Linked DNA regions of Homo sapiens: regions 2 and 3 are each linked to region 1. Evidence: promoter capture Hi-C in 16 types of primary human blood cells and fetal thymus (Javierre and others, 2016). All regions are on one chromosome and are shown on one strand. The core of a region is centred on a gene start or on the middle of the fragment in contact, and the rest is flanking DNA. Distances in the headings are between cores, read along the strand shown. Region 1 holds the start of CD86 (CD86 molecule). Region 2 holds the start of CASR (calcium sensing receptor). Region 3 holds the start of SLC15A2 (solute carrier family 15 member 2).

Region 1 (2,700 bases), core at 141-2,640:
TGCAATAATTTTGAAGATAGATAACTTATATTATTGCTGTCTTCATTTTTTAAAATTCTCAAATCCAGATGAAATTATCAAAGTTGATAAAATAATCATTGTTCTATCTTCTTATTTGAAGATTAATAATTGTGTTGATTTTGCTTCCTTGCTCTAGTTAGCAGTGATGTCATCTGCTATTTTTAAACTTCCTTGAAATAATATATGTAATCTACTTCTAATAAGTTTTTCTTATTTAGCATTTTGGTCTAAACTAATTTATAATTATTTAGCCTTATTTCTCCATGTTTAACTTGCTTTAAAGCTCAGCACTGGTGTTTTCAGCCATGGCTTCTCCATTTTAAGGCTATTTTAATTCATTTATTATTCTGGAATATATCCTTAAATAATTTATTTAGGAAGGCTGTCTTGGTGGTGGTATTTCTGTTGCAGTTGTTGTTTTCTTGCCTGCTTGGTGACATATTTCTATTGACTTGACACTTAACTGGCATCTTATCTAGGTAGATAATGCTAATTCAAAATTCTGCAGATATTGTTCTGTTGTTTTTTGCCATTTAGGGTTGAGTAAGATGCCAAGTTGTTTTTTGTTTCTCTGTAGTCATTCTGTTTTCATTTTGTTTTTAGCTTTGCCTTTGGAATTTAAAATGTTCAAAATGATTTGTCTGGATGAGAATCGATTTTCATAACTTTTGCTTTGATACACTAAACAGTTTGAGTTTCTAGATGATGCCCATTTTAATTCATACGAGGAAATATCTTCTAGTATAGTTTCTGCTTGATTAATTCTATGTTTGTCTCTTAGGGACATCTATTAATTTTATAATGCTGCCTTTTTTTCAGACTTCTGTTTCAGAATATTCGCTTTCATCAATGTAATCCTTGGCTATAGTAGGAATGAAATAATAAAAGCAGTAGCTTCTGTCTGCCCTCCTTGGTTATGCAGTCCTTACAGAACATCTCCCCATCTCCCATCCCCCCACCCCAGCTCAGTGAAACTCTCCACACTTTGGTTGTGGAAATTGGCAGGGTTAGGTGGCTACTCACTCCCAATCCACATCCACAATAAATCACTTTTTATTATCTTATCAAAATCTGTAGAATGCCTCTTTATTCTATTTTGTTGCTGCGGAGGTTTGTTTTCTCTTTCTAATTATTTTATTTTCTAGGTTTTTTGAGGGAATTTCAAGAGGGGAGATTTTTTATTCAGGCTCATCTTAACGTCATGTCTGGAACTCAAGCTACTGAATTATATATTCTTTAATACATATAGACCTACGTCAATGAGTTTAAACTGCAAGGAAAGGGTTAAATTTCTTCCTCAAGTGTGGTCAAAATCTGTAGAGAAAAGAGGAACAGCTTCTCTTAAAGAAAGTTAGCTGGGTAGGTATACAGTCATTGCCGAGGAAGGCTTGCACAGGGTGAAAGCTTTGCTTCTCTGCTGCTGTAACAGGGACTAGCACAGACACACGGATGAGTGGGGTCATTTCCAGATATTAGGTCACAGCAGAAGCAGCCAAAATGGATCCCCAGTGGTGAGTAATAATTCTTATTCTTTGCAGAGAAGTTATGAGTTGTGACTGCAGTGAAAGGCTGAGGTTGAAGATGGTGCTTTGATGTGTGTCCTTCACTTAGTTCCTAAGTGGAGAAGCTTTCTTTTTCTACAAAAGATCTTTGGCACATAAAGGCAAGAATTATTTGCAATGCCCAAAGCAGTTCATTGGTGGTAGTTATATATATTTTTAGGTGCCTAATTTTGGTTTTGTAAATCTGTTATTCAAATACTGAATGTTACAGTCATTGATTTTAGTGAAGAATCAGGAATTTTTAAAATATCTGCATAAGAATGACAAATAACAGGGAATATGTTTTTTGTCTACCAGGGTCAGTTTGGTCTGAGGGTGGAGGAATGAGATAGAGAAGGTAGAGGGAGAGAGATCAAGAAAAAGAAAGAGAAAAAAGAGGTATAAGGAGAAAATGCAAAACTCAGTTAATATGTCATAATCAGGCCATGGGAGATTCTGGGCAGGGTTGGGTAGTGGAAGGAGGTAGAGTGATTAAATTAGTTACCATGTATTGAACATGCATGATGTGCTGGGTACTTTACTAGTGCTATTTCATTGAATTTTATTCTTCACAATGACTTTTGGAAAGACATCATCATTCTTTTTGACAGATGGGGTAACTGTGGCTTAAAAAACTTGCCCAAGTTCACACTATTCATAAGGGGTAGAGCTAAAATCTTTCCTGCCCGCTTCGTGGTGCGCCAGAAGGTTTCTCCATGCTGTGGAGACTTCCTGGAAGGAGTCACACCCGCCCTTCTCTTGGGTGGTGGCAGCTGGCGCCAGTCACTATGTATTTATTTATTTTTAATTATTTATTTTTGAAACAGAGTCTCGCTCTGTCGCCAAGCTGGAGTGCAGTGGCGCAATCTCAGCTCACTGCAACCTCCGCCTCTCGGATTCAAACGATTCTCCTTCCTCAGTCTCCTGAGTAGCTGGGACTACAGGCGCCCACCACCACGCCCGGCTAATTTTTGTATTTTTGGTAGAGACGGGGTCCACCATGTTGGCCAGGATGGTCTCGATCTCTTGACCTTGTGATCTGGCCACCTCGGCCTCCCAAAGTGCTGGGATTACAGGCGTGAGCCACCGCGCACCCGGCCGTCACTATGTATTTATAATTACTGTTCTTTGAAAATCG
Region 2 (2,700 bases), core at 107-2,606, 130 kb after region 1:
GTACACACTGGGACACACTGGTAAAGTGATCAAGCACCAGGACTGTAAGTCAAGCTGATCAGGTTCAGCTCTTGGCTCTGCCAACTCCTAGCCACCCAACCCTAAATACCTGAAACTGTATGCATCAGTTTCTTCGTCTTTAAAATGGAAGCAATAATAGATCTTCAGAGTAATACTTTCTTAAAGATAGTGCCCAAATTTGGACATTATGCCCAGGTGTAATCCGACCAGTGAAGAGCATCAGTTCAGCCTAAGATTGCAGCCTCATTCGGGTTTTGAACTGAACTCGTTCAGCCTTTGGGTGTTCACAAAGCTGTGCTTGTAGCCAACTAAAATAAAATCTAAGGTATTTTGATAGGCACCACTACTGAGCCACATCCTCCATTACTTACATTGCTGGGTGTTTCGGCCTGAGGGAGGACTTCACATTTATTCCTATTAACCAGATTTTGCCCCCTTCACTGGTGCTTTAGCATTTGCTCAGCTCCTTCTCCTACCCTGTATTTGAGGGAAAGGAAGCCAAATGGGCAGAACTTGGCCATAATGAGGATGTGTTTGACATGCTGGATTTGAGTCTGTGTTCCATTGAAGAAAAGAAATGGAAACTTTGTTGAGTATCCATTCTATACAGGGCACTTTCCTTGACTATTTCATTTAACACTCCAAGGACCCCCTGAGGTAGATGTTATCGCCATTTTGCAGAGAAGAAATCTGCATTTTTATTTGAAGTTCTTAAACATGGTAAACGACCCAATTTTCTGCTTTTTGCTTAACAGTATTTTGCAAACATTTTATCATGTTACTTCATGTTTTCCTATTTTTTTTTTGCTTTATAAATAAATACATACTCCCTCCTTATTCTAAAAAGAATTTGAAGCACTTCTGTCTTGATGTTTATCATTTTAATGGTTGTATAATGTCCCATTAAGTCACCCTAATTTATTCAACAAATTTCCTACTGTTGACAGTTTGGCTCTGTTTGCTTTTTGTGGTTTTTAAAATTATTTTCTGTAACAAATGATCCTGCTAAAAAAAAAATCTCCGCACGAATATTATTTTGTTCTGGAAATTTCCGCAAGGGTGGAATACTGCATTAAAGGGGATAATATTTTTGGTGTTTCTTTATAGAGCCTAGCAAATTGCCCACCCAAAGGAGTATGCTTTATTTGAGAGTAAAAAGCCAAAAACAAACAAACACATACAAAAAAACTGGTTTTCTACAAAAGAAATTAATTTTCCACTTATTCATAAAATATTCTAGTGCTGTGATGGGTGGCAGGCACCGTGCCAGGGGCTAGGGACAAGGATAAGCAAGGCCAGGTCCGGGCCTCCAAGCAGCGCGCTGTGGAGTCGGGTAGAGTAGACCAAGTGCAACAGGCACCTGGCTGCAGCCAGGAAGGACCGCACGCCCTTTCGCGCAGGAGAGTGGAAGGAGGGAGCTGTTTGCCAGCACCGAGGTCTTGCGGCACAGGCAACGCTTGACCTGAGTCTTGCAGAATGAGTAAGAGTTTGGGCACGCGATTTGTATTTATTTTACTGTGAATCTCTGGCCTTATATCAGAAAAAAAAAAATTGTGCCACCCTCGGCACAGAGAACGTTGGTGGCGTCGTAAGCGCCCTAAGCTTCTTTCCATCGCCAAGGAGTAGGGGTCAGGGAAGAGGACAGCGGGAACAGGATTTGAGAGCCGGGAACCCCTGGCTCGGCACGGGAGAGGGCAGGAGAGGACCTAAGCGCGGGGCTCGCCGTCTGCTGGGGACCCGAGCCGGCCTGTGGCCCTCGGGGAACCGAAGACGCGCCCTCAGCGACCCTGAAGAGTCAGCTAAGCTCTCTGCGGGCTAAGGAGACGGTGAAGGAACCGGGACTAACTGGGGTAGGGGTTAGAAGGCAGCCCGCGAGTGGGCTACGAGGGGAGCTGGGCTCGGCAGTTGGGGACCCCGAGGGGGCAAGCGGGCGGGGAGCAGGAGAGGGGCGGAGCTCCGGGGCCGGGGCCGGGGCCGCAGCGGCCGCCCAGAGGGTCTGCGGGGGCTGCTGTGGCCGGACCCGAAGGCGGGCGCCGGGAGCGCAGCGAGCCAGACGCGCCTCTCCAAGACCGTGACCTTGGCATAGGGAGCGGGGCTGCGCGCAGTCCTGAGATCAGACCAGAGCTCATCCTCGTGGAGACCCACGGCCGAGGGGCCGGAGCTGCCTCTGTGCGAGGGAGCCCTGGCCGCGGCGCAGGTAGGACCGGGGAACCCAAGGAGGGCGGGAGGAAAGCGCCCCTGGTGGGGGAGGGGCCGTGGCGGGGTCTGGGGGCCAAGGGCTCCGGGCCGAACGAGGGGCACACGCCGGAGCAGCTCCAGCCTGGGAGCATTGGGCGTGAACGTGGGGGAAAGTAGGGACCAGATTACAGGATCAAGGCTTTCCCCGGCTCAGAACTGGATTGTTCAGTGCCCCTAGAAGGGGCAGCGGGTCGCCCACGCGAATGAACGGGAGCGCGCACCAAAACGCCTGCTGTTGGTAGTTTCTTGTGCCTCTGCCTTGTTTCTGCCTGTGATATAGTCAGAAAGGACTCGCTTGCCACGTGTTAACAAGGGGACAGGTAGCTTTTACAGAGTGTATGAATATGGAGGGGAGGGCCACAGAGTCAGCTCTGGCCCCAGGGGCCGTCAGTGCCCCCACAGGATTCCTGGTCCAAGCTACCAGCTGTCTTGGGAACTTTG
Region 3 (2,700 bases), core at 61-2,560, 160 kb before region 1:
TCCTTTCTTTTCTTTTCTTTCTTTCCTTTCTTTCCCTTCTTTTCTTTCTTTCTTTCCTTTCTTTCCCTTCTTTTCTTTCTTTCTTTCAAGTCTTGCTCCGTCGCCCAGGCTGGAGTGCAGTGGTGGGGTCTCGGCTCACTGCAACCTCTGCCTCTTGGGTTCAAACGATTCTCCTGCCTCAGCCTCCTGAGTAGCTGGGACTACAGGCGCGTGCCACCACACCCAGCTAATTTTTGTATTTTTAGTAGAGATGGGGTTTCACTATGTTGGCCAGGCTAATCTTGAACTCCTGAGCTGTGATCAGCCCACCTCGGCCTCCCAAAGTGTTGGGATTACAGGCGTAAGCCTCTGCACCCAGCCAAAACTCACCATCTTTCTTATCTTCCAAACTCAGTTTTATGATGACTTTCCTTCTCCAATGCATTTTAATCCTCTGCATTCCTACATTCCATTTATGTAACCTCCATACCTGAATAATGACTGACACTAACTCCACTTTTCCCAGCTGTCATGGCATAGTGAAAATTCCAGATCTGCCACTTAGTGGACAGGTACTTTGAACAAATTTCTTAACCTCTGGGAACATTACTTTCTATAAAATGGGGATAGTAATATGAATTAGAATAAATATATATGTTATAGATATACAACATAGATGTAATTCATATATATTAACCTTTCAATAGTAGATGTTCAATAAATTACAGCTATTGTTACCCTGAAATCAGTTTTTCTTTTTTTTTTTTTTTGGAAATGGAGTTTCGCTCTTGTTGCCCAGGCTGGAGTGCAATGGTGCAATCTCAGCTCACCGCAACCTCCGCCTCCCAGGTTCAAGTGATTCTTCTGCCTTAGCCTCCTGAGTAGCTGGGATTATAGGCGCCCGCCACCACACCCAGCTAATTTTTTTTTTGTATTTTTAGTAGAGACGGGGTTTCACCATGTGGGCCAGGCTGCTGACCTAAAACGATCCGCCTGCCTGGGCCTTCCAAAGTGCTAGGATTATATGCGTGAACCACCGCGCCTGACCATGGAATCAGTTTTTCAATCTGTGCTCGAGGTGTTGTGTTCTTAACTATCTTCTACTCCTTTGCAAAGATAATCTTTCTTAAACATAGACTTTCTAATCAGTTCTCTAGCATTGTTTCATTCTGTCTTTGGCATGTTTTCACTTTGCTGTGCTGTACTTTTACACATTCTTTTTAACTATAGCTTCCTGCTTTGCTCTGGATCAGGAAGCTATTGAAGCTGACACCCACAGAGTTAAACTGAGTTGCTGAAGCCACCAGCTCCCCCTCCCAGTCCTTCTTTTCAGAGTAGGCTGGCAGCTGTCCTAACTGCCTACTAAAGCCAAATGCTTGAGGAGAGAGAGAGAGTAAGGAGCCAGCCATGAATCCTTTCCAGAAAAATGAGTCCAAGGAAACTCTTTTTTCACCTGTCTCCATTGAAGAGGTACCACCTCGACCACCTAGCCCTCCAAAGAAGCCATCTCCGGTGAGTCCTTAGATTCAATCCTGCCTCTGAGAGGAATGGCCTCCCTCTTTTGGCTCTCTTCCTTGGGCTCTGGAGCTTCCAGCTGAGCTGTATTAGGGTATTAAAATGCTTCTCTCTTGGATTTAGAATTCACCTGAAACCAAATCTAAACAGAAGCTTCCTTTACATAAGAAGACAAAGCAGCAGGAAGAGGTAGTCAAAGTTCTTCAGTTGGGATCCAGGGACTTGCTGAATTTCATTGCATATTCTGTTTCCCTGGGGGAAAAAAGCAATTCGAATGTCCAGGGAAACTTGGCAAGCATTCTTGTCTGAAGAACTGTGTGTGATTGTTCTTTCTTTACCAATATAAAAACTCTGCCCTTAGTTCTCCCTGTGTGCAGAGTCTTCTGCTGAACACCAATGGAAGTTTCAGAATAGATCCAATTTCTGTTACTATGTGTTCCCAGTTTACTGTGGGAGATAGGACAGAGAAACAGAGAATAGTAATGTTTTGCATTTATATACTCGCTAAAGCACTTCTAAACTCATCATCTCAGTCAATTCTTACACTAAAATTCTGTAAGTGGGGAGGATATAGTAATGATAGCCAAAATTTACTGAGTTCTTACAGTGGGCCAAAAGGTGATGTTATTCTCATTTCTTTGGAATAACAGAACAGAGGTTTTGAGACAGGTGTAGTGACAATGCCAGTATCAGTATGTTAACACAGCCAGTGGCAGTGTTGCCTAACTAGCTAACAGTGTGTCGGCTAAACTCCAGATTGCATAATTCTCAAGCTGTGAGCTGCAAAGGTAAGAAGCCCAGTTCATTGTATGTTTCAAACAAGCTATTATAAAACATTAAAATATATTAATATTTAGGAGGATCATTTATATATATCCCTAGGGTTAAAAGAATAATACATTACTTTATTATTTTGCCTATTTTTTTAGTTAATGATATCTCTTCTGGTCCCAAAGAATTTAGGGCTACTTGCAAAGATGTATATACTTCTCATGAAATGAGGCAATATAAATCTTACAAGATTTGACTGTACTGAGGACAGATACCTCTATGTCTCTTCTCATGTTAGTTGGTCTATTGTAATAGATAGGGAATTAAAATAAAACATAACATTCCTTATATTCTGACTGATATATTACATGAAAAGCATAATTCTTTTAATGTCCAGTAGGATTATCATGAAAATGTTATAGAATCTCTTTAGTA

The links. The method cuts DNA at HindIII sites, captures the fragments that hold promoters and counts their contacts. A CHiCAGO score of 5 or more calls a contact.
Region 2: a contact is called between the fragment with the promoter of CASR here and the fragment with the promoter of CD86 in region 1, in 16 of 17 cell types (neutrophils, monocytes, M0 macrophages and 13 more). The highest score is 14.6, in neutrophils.
Region 3: the fragment with the promoter of SLC15A2 here is called in contact with the fragment with the promoter of CD86 in region 1 in 12 of 17 cell types (M2 macrophages, total B cells, naive B cells and 9 more); the score reaches 18.4 in M2 macrophages.

The regions. Positions count from the first base shown.
Region 1 is chr3:122,053,972-122,056,671 of GRCh38, forward strand. It overlaps CD86 (CD86 molecule), which reads left to right and starts at 1,391. Exons shown (of 7, transcript NM_175862.5): 1 at 1,391-1,532. The coding sequence starts at 1,519. It also overlaps a transcript of ILDR1 not described here. The HindIII fragment of the contact is 6,821 bases long and covers 1-1,423 here.
Region 2 is chr3:122,182,312-122,185,011 of GRCh38, forward strand. It overlaps CASR (calcium sensing receptor), which reads left to right and starts at 1,357. Exons shown (of 7, transcript NM_000388.4): 1 at 1,357-1,501. The HindIII fragment of the contact is 2,199 bases long and covers 1-1,621 here.
Region 3 is chr3:121,893,091-121,895,790 of GRCh38, forward strand. SLC15A2 (solute carrier family 15 member 2) reads left to right here and starts at 1,311. Exons shown (of 22, transcript NM_021082.4): 1 at 1,311-1,491. The coding sequence starts at 1,387. RefSeq lists enhancers at 1-270, 271-803. The HindIII fragment of the contact is 13,918 bases long and covers 1-1,645 here.